Regions from separate parts of the Homo sapiens genome. Here all the other regions are linked to region 1. Evidence: promoter capture Hi-C in human tissues and cell types (Jung and others, 2019). All regions are on one chromosome and are shown on one strand. Each heading gives the region's core, a stretch centred on a gene start or on the middle of the fragment in contact. The rest is flanking DNA. Distances are from core to core; before and after follow the strand shown.

Region 1 (5,033 bases), core at 985-3,484:
ACATTAGACCCATGCCAAGGGTTCCATTGCCGCGTGTGACTAGTGGCTACCATATTGGAAGCACCACTCAGACATGGGACATTTCCACCCTCAGTGCAAGTTCTATTATTAGACAGTGCTCATGCTGACCTAGGTAGATGGAAACCAAGAGATGGATTGGAAGAACCTTCCTAGAAATTATATTGCTGTTCGTTCTGCTTCTTGGGGAATGCAAAAAGGAAAAAAAAAAAAGTGGTGGGCATGGAAACTCTCAAGGTTCCCCTGGCTGTGGGTCAGTGTGTCCTTCAAGGGAGCTTGTTGTCACAGCAGGACGAGTTCAGAAGAAACCTGCTGTTTAGCTAAAGCCATGAAGTTGCTGCTGAGACTAATTTTATGCCACCCAACCCCCAAGCCACTCCAATGTCCTGCTTAAAGTATAGTAATTGCCTCGATGCAATCTGTTACTGTAAATTATTTACAGCTAAATGGCTTAGAGCCTGGTCTTTATTTGTTTTGGAGAAACTGATTCCTCACTATTCTAATTTTCCTTATGACTCAAATAACTTCCTTGGCCCTGACTTTCATTTCACCTCTACACCTAGAATGGAAGTTGTCCTCTTCCAAAGTGAGTGGAAAAAAACCCTAGTTGGCTGAATGCTAGGGTTAGGTTCGAGCTTATGAAATTGCCATTGTTATAGGTGAAAATTGTTCAATATCAGCAATTTTCTGTGGTTCAAATGGAATAGCCCCGGTGAAAATTCCTAAGAATTTAAACATCGCCCTCCTCCCTTATAAGCAGAGCCAGAAGCGAGGGAGGGACTGGCCCTACTTGGGGCTATTCCACAAGAAAAGCTGCTGGGAAGACCCAACGATTCAGTGCAGTTAAACTTGTCTTCTGATTCTGAGCTCCCATCATAAGCAAGGCACTGTCGGGGTAAGTAGAAAGAAACTCAGCACTCTTATTTGGGGAGGGGTGAAGTTGGAAAATAAAATGAATGTGCTTACCATAATTGCTGACATTCACTGTGTGTGTTCTATGGGCTATTTCTAAGTTCTTTACATGAAATTACATCAATTCGTCTTGACAAGCACTATGATTGTCCCCATGAGATAAAGGAGGAAACTTGGCATAGAGAGGTAAAGTCATTTGCTCGAGGTCGCATAGCTAGTGAGTCATGGAAGCTGGACCTGGGTTCAGGCTCAGCGGCTCAAGAGTGCACGTCTTGAACCTCAACACCAACACCCCTGGCAGTGGCTACAGAAGAGAGTCTGAGGATGAGAGGGGCAGACACAGGACTTTGGGGGCAGGGTTGGTTTTGGGAGCAGGAGTGTTGCAGGGCATAGAGAGTGTGGTGGTGTTCTGAGGTGGCTGAGAACAAGATCAAAGCCAGGAGCAGAAGATGGTAACCAAGGTCCCTCTGCCGTGAGTTGCAGAACCCGGCCTGGCAGGGCAAGGCAGGGGATGTAGATCAGCCTTCCAGCCTCCACAGGAAAATGGGGAGATAACCCAGCATTTCCAGTGCCCGGGGAGGCAGGAGGGTGGGAGACAGTGAATGGCAGCCCTCCTGGCAGTCAGGTTTTGTGAAAGTCGCAGAGAAAGTACAAGGGGCAGGGAGGGATGGAGGACTTAGGAAAGGGAAGGTCAGACACAAATGTGCACAGGGAGGATTGCAAAGCACGACAGCCCAGTGGGGCTGAGAAGGAGCCTTCAGGACACAGCGGACCAAGAGATATCATTTTGGTCCCCTGATGGGTGAGACTCCAGCAAATAACTTTTTCCTTTCTTTGTGGCAAAGGCCAAGAGAGGTGGCTGCTCCTGCCTTAGCTGAGGAATTGAGTATCTGATCTCCGTCTCAGGCCAACCTAAGACCCCCCCTGCCCCAGCCCCACCTCCCACCCCCTGCCTAATCCTTCAGATGAGAAAGTTCTGTTTCCTCCTTCCTTTGCGCAGGACCAACCCTGGCCAAAGAATCTTCCCCCTCCTCCTTCTTTCCCTCCCACCTCTCTTCCCTCCTTCCCTCCCCCTTCCCAGCCTGGCCATGAATAAAGCTCATAACGCTACCTGCCGAGCAAGCCGAGTGGAGGGAGGCAAAGGCCAGGCTGAGGATCAGGGTGGCCCGGGTGGCAGCGGGGAGGCGCTGCATGCTGGAGGCTGTGCTGAGTGCCCGGTGCAGGTGAGCCGGTCCTGCGGAGTTGTGCCGAGTGCCTGCTGCAGGTGAGTCGACTCCCACCTGCAGGAGCTGGAAAGCAACTCTGCCAGAGGTGAACTTATGCTGGGTGTTTGGGGGAAACACCATGGGGTGGAGCAAAGGAAACTTGGCCTGTCACACCTTCTCTCACCTCTCTAGAAGGGAAGCCAAACCGTTGGCTGAGGAAGGAAGGGAGGGGCAAGCTGTGCCCTTCTCCCCTGAGCGCAAATATTGTCCTTATTGAGAAACAAGGGGAGGACAAGAGAGATCTGTGTCATGCTGGTTCCTGGGACATGAGTTTGCTGCCTCTCCCATCTGCAGGTGTAGCATGGATGCTCAATTCCATTTGGGCCAATATTCACTGAGCACCCACTATGCTGAAGTTGGGAGATACCTGCTGTCGAAGTGCGTTAATTACAAACACGCATCATTCAACCCCAGAACCGTGTTTGAGGAATGGCTTGGGAGGATAAAGCACTGTGGGTTTCAACAGTGGAGGCCACATCTGCTGATGGGATGCTTCAAGAAGAAAATGGCATTTGAGGTTGGGCATGGGGGCTCACCCTGTAGTCCCAGCACTCTGGGAGGCTGAGGCAGGTGGATCACTTGAAGTCAGGAGTTCAAGACCAGCCTGGCCAAAATGGTGAAACCCCATCTCTAATAAAAATACAAAAATTAGCCAGGTGTGGTGGTGCATGCCTGTAGTCCCAGCCACTTGGGAAGCTGAGGCAGGAAAATCGCTTGAACCCGGAAGACAGAGGTTGCAGTAAGCTGAGATGCTCCTGACCCTGCATTCCAGCTTGGCCGACAGAGGGAGACTCCATCTCCAAAAAAAAAAAAAAAAAAAAAAAGAAAATGGCATTTGGCCTGGGCCTTGAAGGATGGCTAGAATTTTGACAGGGGGAGAGGGGAAGATGGCATTATAGGTAGAGGGACAGATGAGCAAAGGTCCAGAGGTAAGGAAGTGTCAGAGGGTGGCTGTACCAGCAGCACCCAGAAGCGCAGGTGAGCCAAGGCATGTGAGGTGGGGAGGCAAGAGGAGAGCTGTGGGCTAAGCTTCTGCGTGCCTGGTAGAGGAATTTGAAACAAAGTCAGGAAGCAAAGGGGAAGGTTCTGTAGAGATTTTGAGCTGAGGAGTAACTTGACTAGAGCTCTGCATTCCGTCTAAAACATTTATTGAAGACCCACATGTATATAAAAGGTCTCATCCTAGGCACTGGAGACTGAGATGACTGAGACACGCCTCTTCCCCTTGAGAGCACAGTGCAGCAGGGAACCAAACCCGGAAGAAAGAAATTTGATGCAACCTGGCAAGACTCAAATAGGGGTACCTTCCACTGTGATGGGAATAAAAAGGAGGATGGGATGAACTCTGCCTGAGAGGTATAGGGGAAGGATTCACAGAGAAAGTGACATTTGGGCTGGGTGCTGAAGTTTGTATGTGCAGATTAGAGTTGATGGGCTTTTCAAGTCAAAGGAATAGCACCTATAAAGGCGAGGGAATCGTCTGTGTGCACACAGCCTGCCATGTGTGGAAGTGTTCCTGCGCATGAATGGGCCTGGTAAGGGTGAGGGGTGGACTCCAGCTCTGTGGAAAGACATAGAAGGCGTGAGTAAGCCCCAAGGAAAGATTTCCTAGTGGAGTGTAACAGCCCAGGGGAGGCACTTTTTTCTAATTGGCTCTAAGATATAAAATAGTGGTGGCCTATGTTCCTGGATTTGGGGATAGGGCCAACGTGCCCTAGGAAGGGTGATTTTCAGTCAGTGCACAGAAGTCCAGTTTAGGCATTACCACTAGTTGAACATTAAACAGTTGCATGCCAGGCCAGGCTCTCGGTGTGGGGACCTGGGGGTGAGAAAGACCACACAGCCCTTGTGCTCAAGGAACTCAAGGTCCCCACAGAGAGGACGCTGCTTAGTAGAACAAATGCTGTCCTCGATGTTTTCCTCACAAGTAAACCCTGCAGTGGGCTTCACAGGGCAGGACTGATTTATCCAATGGGTACTAGGGATAACAGCGGTACGTGGAATCCCCAAGATTTCCAAGGATCTCAAAAATGTTTGAGACCTGAGAAAATATTCTCAGATCCAAAATTTGAAGAACAGACCAGGCATATTGGCACACGCCTGTCATCCCAACACTTTGGGAGGCCGAGGTGGGAAGATCACTTGAGCCAGGGAGTTCAAGACCAGCCTGCACAACATAGTAAGACCCTGCCTCCGCAAAACAAACAAAAAAAAACACAAAAAAATTACTTGGGTATGGTAGTGTGCACCTGTAGTCTCAGCTACTCAGGAGGCTGAGGTGGGAGGATCACTTGAGCCCAGGAGGTTGAGGCTGCAGTGAGCTGAGATGGCACCACTGCACTCCAGCCTGGGTGACACAGTGAGACCCTGTCCCCAAACAAACAAACAAAAATTTGAACAATCAAAAACTGGGCAAAATAAATGATTGTTTCAAAAGCAAAGTTATACAGTTCACTTGAAATGTTTAAACGGAAACGATTTAATGTGGGACGCTGGGTGCATTTTAATGTGTTTGACGTGAGCAGAGCCTGTCCCTCCTATGGAATCGGAACCTGAGGTATGCAAACATGTAAGATGGCCTGCCTGGGGTTATTGTAGTGGTGGATTGAACAGCATCTGCAGCCTAAGCTGAGACCATCCTATCAAGTCGTATCAGGGAAAGCTTTTCTGGCAAGCAGTGGATGTGGAGGAGGGGGATAATGTGTTGGCCCTCCCTCCCTATTTTATCATTGTTATGTGATGTCGGACTGTTTTAGATGAGCTGTTTGTAGGACAAACATTCTCCTATCTACAGATGGAAGAACTTTGTTATTCGAAAATAGTATAGGCTGGGCCAGG
Region 2 (5,033 bases), core at 1,226-3,725, 1.1 Mb after region 1:
CACTCTGTCACCCAGGCTGGAGTGCAGTGGTGCTATCTCGGCTCACTGCAACCTCTGCCTCCCGAGTTCACACCATTCTCCTGCCTCAGCCTCCCGAGTAGCTGGGACTACAGGCGCCTGCCACCACGCCCAGCTAATTTTTTGTATTTTTAGCAGAGACGGGGTTTCACTGTGTTAGCCAGGATGGTCTTGATCTCCTGACCTCATGATCCACCTGCCTCGGCCTCCCAAAGTGCTGGGATTACAGGTGTCAGCCACCGCGCCCGGCCAAGATTAGTTTGTTCTTGTTTTTCTAGTTCCTTTATGTGTGAAGTTTAGATTGTTAATTTAGGACTTTTCTATCTTCTTGATGTAGACGTTTTGGTATGTTGTGTTTCTGTTTTCATTTGTTTCAAATAATTTTTTGATTTTTGCCTTAATTTTTTGTTGTTTACCCAAAAGTCATTCATGTGCAAGTTGTTTAGTTTACATATATTTTTATGGTTTTGAAGGTTCCTCTTAGTGTTGATTTCTATTTTTAATCCCTCTATGGTCCAAGAAGATGCTTTGTATAATTTCTACTTTTTAAAAATTGATTGAGACTTGTTTTATGATCAAGCATGTGGTACTTTTTACAGTATGCTCCATGTGCAGATGAGAAGAATGTATTTTCTTTGGCTGCTGGATGAAGTATCCTGTAGATGTCAATTAGATCCAGTTGGTTCAGTGTCCAATTTAAGTCCAGAATTTCTGTGCCAGTTTTCTGCCTCAGTGATCTGTCTAATACTGTCAATGTGTTAGAGGTCCCCTACTGTTATCGTGTGTCTGTCAAAGTCTTTTCTTAGGTCTAAAAGTAATTGTTGTATAAATCTGGGTCCTCCAATGTTGGGTACGTATATATTTAGGATATTTAAGTCTTCTTGTTGAATTGAATTCTTTATCATTATGTAGTGTCCTTCTTTGTCCTTTTTTACTCTTGTTGGTTTAAAGTCTATTTTATGTGACTCAAGATTAGCGACTCCTGCTCTTTTTTGTTTTCTATTTGTGACTTCACTATAATTTTAAAGCCCAGTTCCCACTAGAACTTCGTTTTGTTAGATGCTTTGACTGTAATAAAACAGCCTTCGATTTTTCCATTTTTATCTTTTTATTCATTATCTTTTGTAATAAATTCCATTATGCATAAAATTTTAGTGGTTACTTCTGGGATCAAGCCTGTTAACCCACTCACACAATTAAATTTTCCTTTCTGACTTTATTTTTTTTCCCCCGGTAGCTGAGTACCTTTCTTGATGTAACATTGAGTAAAACATTGGCTATTTATACATCTAGGCTTTCATTCTCATAAGTGTGTGTTTTAAGCATGGGTATTAATTTCATTATGTGGGTCCAAACCTGTCTCTGACTTGGAAATGACTTACGGGTGCACATGGGTCTGCATATTAAGGTCTCTTGTGGCTGTGGGAGTGAGTGGGAGTGACGGGAGCTACTGTGGGCATTCTTGTGTACATCTGGCCATAGCAGTGGGTCCCAGGCTAGATCACTGGCACTTCTTTAATTAAGGCTCTGTTTCTGCCCAGAGCAAATTTGAGGTTCTCTGCTTCTTTTCCTATTGCAGAAGGGGCCCTACCTAGGAAGGATTTTGAAGTTCTGTTTCTTCCTTTATTTTTTTTTTATCCTTTTGGATGTAACAGCGCACCAACCACTGCCAGAGCTGACAGAATTGGAATGGAAGTAGGTGGGTGGGGGTTGGGGGTGGAAGGAGGGATGGCAGTCATCAGTTTGGGAACAACCTCTGAGCCAAAGAAATGCCTTTGGCATATGAGAACAGTGTGAGTTTATCTCTTTTCCTGTTTGGAAGAAGGTACACTATAAATCCGACTCTACCCAGGAACTGTTTATGGGAGATCGTTATTAAAGAATAGATATTTGATTTTTCCATTGGTTTGGAGAAACTAGGAGTCAGGCACTAAGGACGTGCTGTGTACTCATAACTTTTCTCCAGCTATCCATAAGGCTAATATACATTTTTGACAGGAATTTTTTTAAGTAAGAATTTTTTTTTACATTGTATTTATAGATGTAAAAGCACTGAGAGCTTCATTACTAGAAAGCAGCCCCTATGGTTTTCAGCATTGCTAGAATCAAGAGATGATATTCTTGTTGACTGTTGACCATGCTTTTCCAGATCACCCACTGTTGCACATTCATGAAATTGGAGTGAGCATACAAATTTGTTGAGAGAATTATCTTAACTAGATTCAACCTCTGTGCCCATGAGGTACTGTCATTCTCAGTGATTCAAATAGATATTTGGGTACAGGTGGTCATGTTTGGCGAGCTGGTTTCTGTGCAGATTCAGCACCTGTGGTTTGTTTCATCTTATCGTTCAGACACAGATGCTCTTAGAGCACCACACCATGCATTCCAATGAAATCTTTCCACTGAAACCATAACCTCTGTGATCCTAAAAGGAAGGAGTCAGTGTACAGAGGGACATGACATATTCAAAATCAGAAGTTGGGATAAGCCAGAAGGAACCTTGTGGGATTAATTTTCTTCTTTAAGTGTGGGTAATGTTTTTCGCATGCCCTCTTTTCAAACCTCAGCACTTCACTTGTCCATCTGCATTTTCTCCAAGTATTGTAAATGTCAGGTTTGTGTGAAGAGGCATCTGTAAAACTGCTGGCATGAATAATGACTCTGATGTTTATGTACGGAAGAGCGCACCTGACTTTAGCACTCTTATTATCTTTTACTAATTAAAATCAAGAAGATGTTTCAGCTAGACATTGCCTGTGCATAGCACCTGCTGGATTGCTTTTCTCCTTTTGGTGTTTCTGGTTTGGTGGAAAGGCAAGAAAGGTGAGCTGAATGACTTGGAGCAAGGAACAGTGGTGATGTCCCATCACTCTCGGACAAGCACTCCTTAGCCTATTTAAATTTATTTTTCTAGTTCTCAAAATAATAAAAAAAAAATTAAGACTTAGCCACCCTTTTTATCAGTGAGGAAATTCAGGCTCAGAGAGGTGAGCTCATTTACCTAGTTACTCAGCGTGTGACAGGATTAGGATTTGGACCCAGAGTCACTTCTGAAGCTTGTTCTACTTCCAATCTTATAATTACCTTAAAAATAGGGTGTGGCTGTATAGACCAGCTTTTGCATGAGAAAAGCCTCATTGTTCATGAATTTAGTTTATATTGGATGGTTATTTTAAATTATAGTCATGTGCTGAGCATTATGTCACCAGCAAATCATAGCCGTTTTCCAGAGATATTTCCCTGGTTAAATATTCACATGACATTTGAACATACTGAACAGCCAAGCATGTTGCTTAGTTGTTATGGTTGTTTTTGTGCGGGGATATCGGGTAGGGGAGGGGATTAAAAGTATTGGGCTGGTCTGGCTAATTTCTAGTCTCCATTTCTTGCAGACGACCTCTGATTCTCTGGTTTTGAAGTAGGGAAGTGTGACTGTGGTGAATCCCAAGAAACAGCTTGATAGCTTTACACCATACACCTGCCATTGCTGACATACTTTGGAGGGGACTGAAGTGGAGATGCAAAGCAGTCAGGCTGTAGGCCCCAGGGAGCTTATGAATCTGACCTCAGGGGTCCTCCCTGTAGAGATTCCTCACACCAAACATCTGAACTCATGTCAGGCAGTACTGTTTTAACCTCACTTTTTGCCCAGAATGATGGGAATAAAATCAAAATTGACAGACAGAGGAAGCTGGTCTTTCCTCCAGAATTGATAAACCAAGATACTTTAAACTTATTCCCAAGAATGTGGATTTCTGCATGTATGTATCTCTTCAAGGTTGCATAAATGGAATTTGTGCTTCAATTTGTCAGAATCCTGAATTTCCAAATCCTGATGTAAGGATTTAAGTAGGAGAGATACCTGGATTTGAATTGTTGTGAAATACAGTGGTAGGTTGACTAGCTTTATTCCAACAGAGTGAGGTTGATAGTCTTTGTTGCCATGAGATGCTTCACCTTTTCCCCTACCAACCTTCAAAGACATGGTGGAGCGGAATCACTGGGCAACACCAGTGGGAATAGTTCAACCAACAGTAGTTCTCACTTAGCAGAGACAGACCTCAGGTTCAACCTTTTCTTGACTGCCATTTCGATTCTGCAAGTGGCAAAAATAAACTGGAAAGTGGATGATCACTCTCATATGCTCTATTGACAAATAAGAAAAACAGGGACCAAAAACAACTTTCTCTGGGCAGTCTGGGGAATAAAAGCTGCTGGGAGGATCTAGTGTACACATGCGTGTAGCACTTTTTACATTCGCTAAACCCTTTTATAGTTACTCTGTCATTGGCCATTCTGACTATGTTGTGTGCAGGGCAAATGAGTTTTGTTCTTCCCATTGGAGAAAGGCTATCTAAGGAAGACCCATGGGAAATTAGCAAGTAAGCCAGGGCTGGAGTTCCCAGAGAGGCCCTGCATGAGGTCCCATAGGAAGCCGCTAGGATCTCGAGGTCTAGTCGTTATTTTTCCTCTTTGGCAGATTACACCGTAACTCTGAAAGAGCCAGGGAAGCCTAGGTTGTTTGTTCTTTAGAGTTTTTAACATGGAAGGAGGTTTAGAATTTATTTTGCCCGTCTTTTCATTTTAGAGATGAGGAAAATGAGACCCAGGGAGATGTGATTTCACAGGTCAAATAGTCCTATGACACTGGGTAGACAATAGGATACCTGATGTGAATGTTGAAAAATGTGCCGTAGGAGAAAACAGCCCTTTAGGCACTTGACTTGGCAAGCTGAGGTTACTTGGTGCAAAGGAAGAGATGCCCTTCTTTCAGGTGGATGTAGATCCATGCTGAGACACGTGGCTCAGAGTGCTGAGCATGGGCTGGATTTCAGCTCCTGATCCCTCTATTTTCAGTCCACAAACTGCATACTCTGTGAAGTGGCTCTGCATGGTTTTGCTGGTTCACTTAAAACATATTTGGATAAAAAACATGACTGAATGAGGGAGTCAGCTTTTCATTAGGTAGAGGAGGTGTCCATATGTCTAGTAATTGCCCTCATTTGGCACAA
Region 3 (5,033 bases), core at 1,854-4,353, 1.0 Mb after region 1:
TCACTTTAGTTCCAAATTTTCAGGGACATTTGGTACCAAACTCTTCTTACAGAACTTTACCCTCGACCACCATTGCTGGATCTGCCACAGTCAGAGTTCATCTACCGGGTCTAACACGTCTCGGCTTCTTTTGCATTTTCTCCCGTGTCTCCCTTGGGTGTCGCAGAAGCAGCAAGAGATTATTATCATGTAGTAGGGCTCCGTAATCAGAATGCGAAATCCCTATGCATAAATGCTGTCTTTTCTCAGAATTTCCTGACCCACTTTCTATTTTTTGAGAAGACAAAATTGACTTTTTTTTCTGACTTCTTCAGAAATCTCTTATAGTGACTGGTATTTTCATCTGCTGGCACCTCTGACAATGACTATTACAACGTGCCTCAGAATACAGAGTGCTAACACCTCATCTTCTAAAAGAAATGCTTCCTCTGTAAAAGTGTTTTCTCTGATGAAGCCGCCATATAGACCATTGAATAGGAACTGCAGAAGACTCCGGAACACAATTTGATAGCCGTTCAGCCAAGCGGCTGCAATTTATTTTGTCCCTGAGTGTGAAGGAGGCAGCCCAAAGAATGTTGGCTCTGGAGGAGGAAGGCAAGGATATGGGGAAACAGGGGCCAGAGAAGGGCAGGATGGGGCAAAGATTCAGGGCACCTTATGTAATGAGGCACAGCGTGATTCTGCCCGGGGCCTGTACGTGCATGCAGTCGGGTTGCCTCCCTTTCCCCTGGAAATGTGCCCTTTGCTTACTTTTTGTTTGGTTTTAAAGCAGCTGGAAAGGATATTTTTTGCTCAGAATTGGTGCTTAGCTTTTGCAGAAGCTGCTTCTTGAGAGTCGTCTCTTGTCATCCCTCTGGGTTTTAGCTCAGTGTGACGAAGCTATTTAAAATATGTGTGTTTTTAAATGATTCTAAAAATGAAGTATTCACATTGTTATGCCTCACTCCCTCCCCACTATTGAGTCCTGCTCCCCTGACAGCAACTTTCCATTTCTCTAGCTTATCCTTCTGGTATTTATTTATATCTGTGTTTCTAAATACTATGTTTATACTATGATCATTTGGTTTGCCAATTGTAGACATTATCTGTTAGGTTGGTGCAAAAGTAATTTTGGTTTTGCCAAGATGATAGTATTAGGTACCGACCTAATACCATCATCTTTCTATGAGATGGTACCATTTTAGATGAACATCTTGTGTCCACTTAACATCCTCCCACTTTCTGTAGCTTCCTCATATATGTAGATCAAAGTTCTTGGTTAGACTCATGATCAGATTATTTGTTTTTTGTTTGTTTGTGTTTGTTTTGTAGGGACAGGGTCTTGCTGTGTTGCCCAGTCTGGTCTTGGAGTCCTGGCTTCAGGTGATCCTTCTGCCTCTCATACTGGAATATTATATAATATTTTTAAAAATAGCTCACCTTTATTATGTATTTTCTGGGTGCAAGACACTGTCGAAGAGCTTTAGACATGTATTAACTAATCTTTATAGCAACCATGTAAAGCAGATACTGTTATTCTTTCCATTTTGCAGATACGGACATTGAGACCTGGGTTAACTAACTTTCCAAAGTCATGTAGGTAGTAGCTGGTGGAGCCAGACTTCAAACCAAAGTAAACGAGGCTCCAGAGTCTACTTTTAACCACTACACTTTTTAAATGATTAAGATTTTACAAATACTATTTATAGTGGAGCCACATGTATATTATTATCTCTTCTCCTTCTCTTCTCTTCTCTTCTCCTTCTCCTTCTCTTCTCTTCTCTTCTCTTCCTCTTCCTCCTACTCTACTCTTCTCTTCTCTTCTCTTCTCTTCTCTTCTCTTCTCTTCTCTTCTCTTCTCTTCTCTTCCCTTCTCTTCTCTTTTGGAACTCTTATTAGATGGAAGTTGTATGTCCTGAATTTATCCTCTAATTTTCTTACCTTTATCTCTTCATTACCTTTGACCTACATTCTGGGAGATTGCTTTAACTTTATCTTGTAACTCTTACCAAAGAGTTTTTTTTCCCCTGTGACACTTTAAAAGCCCAGTAGCTGTTTCTTATTTTTGTTCTGTTCTTTTATTTTTCAGTTCTTTCTTCCTAATTGAGTACTTTGGCCCTGTCTTTCATACTGGTGGCTTTCCTGCAATGGCAGGAGATCTGCAGCCATCAGGTCACATACATGAACAAGGCTCTGAAGAGCTGACAGGATAACTTCCGTGGGTGGCCCAGGCTCATCTGGTAGTGGCCCCCCCATCAGGTCACAGACATGAATAAGGCTCTGAAGAGCTGACAGGACACCTTCTGTGGGTGGCCCCGGCTCGTCTGGTAGTGGCCCCCCACTGCAGAGTGGCCTAGGATCACAGATCTGTTCACTTGGAGGATCCTCAGATGTCAGCATCTGGAAGCTTTTCCCTTGGGCTGGCCAGAATCTCCATAATAGAACCACCCAGACTTGTTCCTGGGGCTGTGCACCTGCTGCAGGTGTTGTGGGAGCCAAGTTTGGAGTGGGAAACAGAAAGATCTCATTGTGGGTGTTGACTTTCACTCAATTCTCTCTTTTCAGACTCACGTTTACCCATGCACCACCCTCACCACCCTGCAAGCCCTCCCTATTTGAGTCCCTAGTTCCTGAGGATCCCTCTTTCAGTTTCTCTAGAAAAAGAAATTCCTCCTGTCCTGCCCTGGGTGTGCTGAGTGGGAAGGAGGGAATAAGGAAGATTCTCTTTGCCCTGGAGGAAGTCCATGACACTTCCAATTCCTCCTCCAATTCCTCAGCTTTTCTGAGGGGCTCCGTGCAAATTGGCTTGCTTTTTCTTGGTTTTGCTCTTTGAGATTTGTAACTTTCTTTGTGCTAATAGGTTAGTAATAACTTGTCAATTCACTTTCCATCTTCCAGAAGACTGTTAACATTTATTTCTACCTCTCCATTTCTCTGTGTCCTTGTGGAACTTTACTTTTTAAAAAAACTTAATTACTTTCATTATGTTGGAGGTTGGGAAGGGAGTAGAGATGAACATCACGTTGACACAACCATATTTGATGGAAGTCCGATTAGATCACCATTGGAAATATTTGTTTCTTAGAGTTTGCTTCATTTTCCTGTTAGGCTGGAGGATCCCATGATATTTGTCTCAGAATAACGGGAGGGTTCACTTTTCATTCTGTTTGAGCTTTCCTGGTGTATACCTTTCTTCCTTTCCTCTTAGGATCGTAAGTCCTGAACAATCTTGTTCTAGCTCTTTTCTCCTCTTATCTTCATCTGTAAATGAAAGGGGCTGAGAGCTGGTTTCAGGCAGGAACTAGATCTGACATTTAGGAAATCTCCTGTTCAGGTAGCTTCTCTTGGCCTTTTCCTTTCAGTGATATTTTCTGAAAACCTGACTTGCCATACTGATTTAAATGCCTGATACCAGTGTAAGGTATAGATGTGACTTCTCCTAGGAACATAGATAAAGCTTTGGGGGTGAAATTGACAATAGAGTGTGTCTCCTTTCTCTCTTTAGCCAGTGGGAAGGTTGGGTGACTTGGGGCTGCAGGATTCCGGGAGGCCTCCGTATCGTATGCTGCCTGTCCTTAGAGTCCATCCAGACCTGAGGGCTACTTAGCTGAATTGTTTAGTAAACGACGTGGGATTCAGCTGCATCATCTCTATGAAGACTCTCATGTTGACTTATCATTACAAAGGGCTGATGGTGGCAGTGGTTCTAAACCTTGACAAGTGAACGGTTTCTGCAGGAAGGCTCTTTGGAAGACTGTGACATCACAGACAAGACAAGGAATATCATTAGTGAGGTCATTTTAAAATTCTCAGATCTTGGACTTGCTCTGGGCAGTGACTTTGCCAGCAAGTTGGAAGAGGGCACAAGAAGTGTGCTCATCAAATTTGTGGCAGACACAAAACTGGAAAGGATGGCCAATGTAATCGATGACAAAAACAAAAATATGTCTCAAAATGATATAGATATGCTGGAATGCTGGGTTAAAAATAACACAATGACATTTCAAAGGGATAAATGTAAAATCTTATTTTGGAATAAAAAAATCAACGATACATAATGGTGGGAGAAAAAAATCTACTGGCAGTAGTTCTGGTAGAGAAAGACACTGAAGTTTTATTTGACTAAAAGCTCAGTATAAGCCACTAAATCTGACTGAGGCAACTAAAAAGCTGCATTAATGGAACGTTAATGTATTGAACTCAGGAAGTAACACCCCTCTTCAATGGTTGGACTGCACCTGGCGCCTCATGTTTGCCCAGAGAAGGGCAATTAGCAGGTGCCTGAGGGTCTGGAAGCATGTCTCAGGAGAAACCATGGAAGGAACTGAGTATATTCAGATGGAAAAGAAAACTGTCTTCTCCTTATTAGCTGTGAAACTTTAGGCAAGTTACCCTGGAAGCCCCTGTAGCCTCTTGGGTAAAATGTGGAAGGAGACCATTTCTCTGTGGTATAGGTAGGGGGCAGAAAGAAGGAAGTACTGGAGGAAGAGATTGGAGAGGTAGGAGGTGGGGATGGGATTGAGAACATATTCATAGCTCAGGGTAAGGCATTCACAGTTTATCCTGAGCTGCAGGAAAATAATATGGGCACTGTATTATCTTTCAAACCAGGACATTCAGAGTGAAAGCCAGGCTTATTCAATAAAACAGGACAAAAGGTACCAACTAGGGCTGTTGCAGGTACCCTAGACAAACCAGGAGGAAAGGCCATACTGCCGAAGAGCACTGTCAGTAGAGGACATCTGCCTTTTGGGGTGGTGAGTGGTCTGCCTTTGGAGGCATCTAAGCAGGGCTTGAATGAACTTCTCTTGTGGACCAGCACAAGAGAAGTCGGGTGGAAATGAACGAAATGAACTTTCAGATCCTTATTGAGTACTGCTACAAGGGATGCTATGTTAGAGAATATATGAAACAAATTAAACAGGAGCCATCCTGGCTCTCTGCAAATTCTTTTAGATGTGTATATTTGGCAAAAAGAGGGCAGAAAAAGGAACTCTGACCCTTTCTCAATGTAAAAGTTCCTTCTGAAGGATGAAATTAACTTAAAGGTTCAG

The links. Contacts are between HindIII fragments. The study calls those that stand out against the background at their distance.
Region 2: a fragment that was not itself captured here is called in contact with the fragment with the promoter of TMEM213 in region 1 in 1 of the 25 tissues and cell types used here (aorta).
Region 3: a fragment that was not itself captured here is called in contact with the fragment with the promoter of TMEM213 in region 1 in 1 of the 25 tissues and cell types used here (IMR-90 fibroblasts).

What each region holds. Positions count from the first base shown.
Region 1 is chr7:138,795,195-138,800,227 of GRCh38, reverse strand. It overlaps TMEM213 (transmembrane protein 213), which reads right to left and starts at 2,234. Exons shown (of 3, transcript NM_001085429.2): 1 at 2,042-2,234. The coding sequence starts at 2,123. It overlaps ATP6V0A4 (ATPase H+ transporting V0 subunit a4), which reads left to right and starts at 2,032. Exons shown (of 22, transcript NM_020632.3): 1 at 2,032-2,194. RefSeq lists a silencer at 1,970-2,264. The HindIII fragment of the contact is 6,104 bases long and covers 1-4,041 here.
Region 2 is chr7:137,738,938-137,743,970 of GRCh38, reverse strand. All of the region lies in intron 1 of DGKI (diacylglycerol kinase iota), which reads left to right. Among named protein-coding and RNA genes, the nearest start is that of DGKI, 110 kb to the left of the region's middle. The HindIII fragment of the contact is 4,076 bases long and covers 438-4,513 here.
Region 3 is chr7:137,764,287-137,769,319 of GRCh38, reverse strand. All of the region lies in intron 1 of DGKI (diacylglycerol kinase iota), which reads left to right. Among named protein-coding and RNA genes, the nearest start is that of DGKI, 80 kb to the left of the region's middle. The HindIII fragment of the contact is 5,465 bases long and covers 371-5,033 here.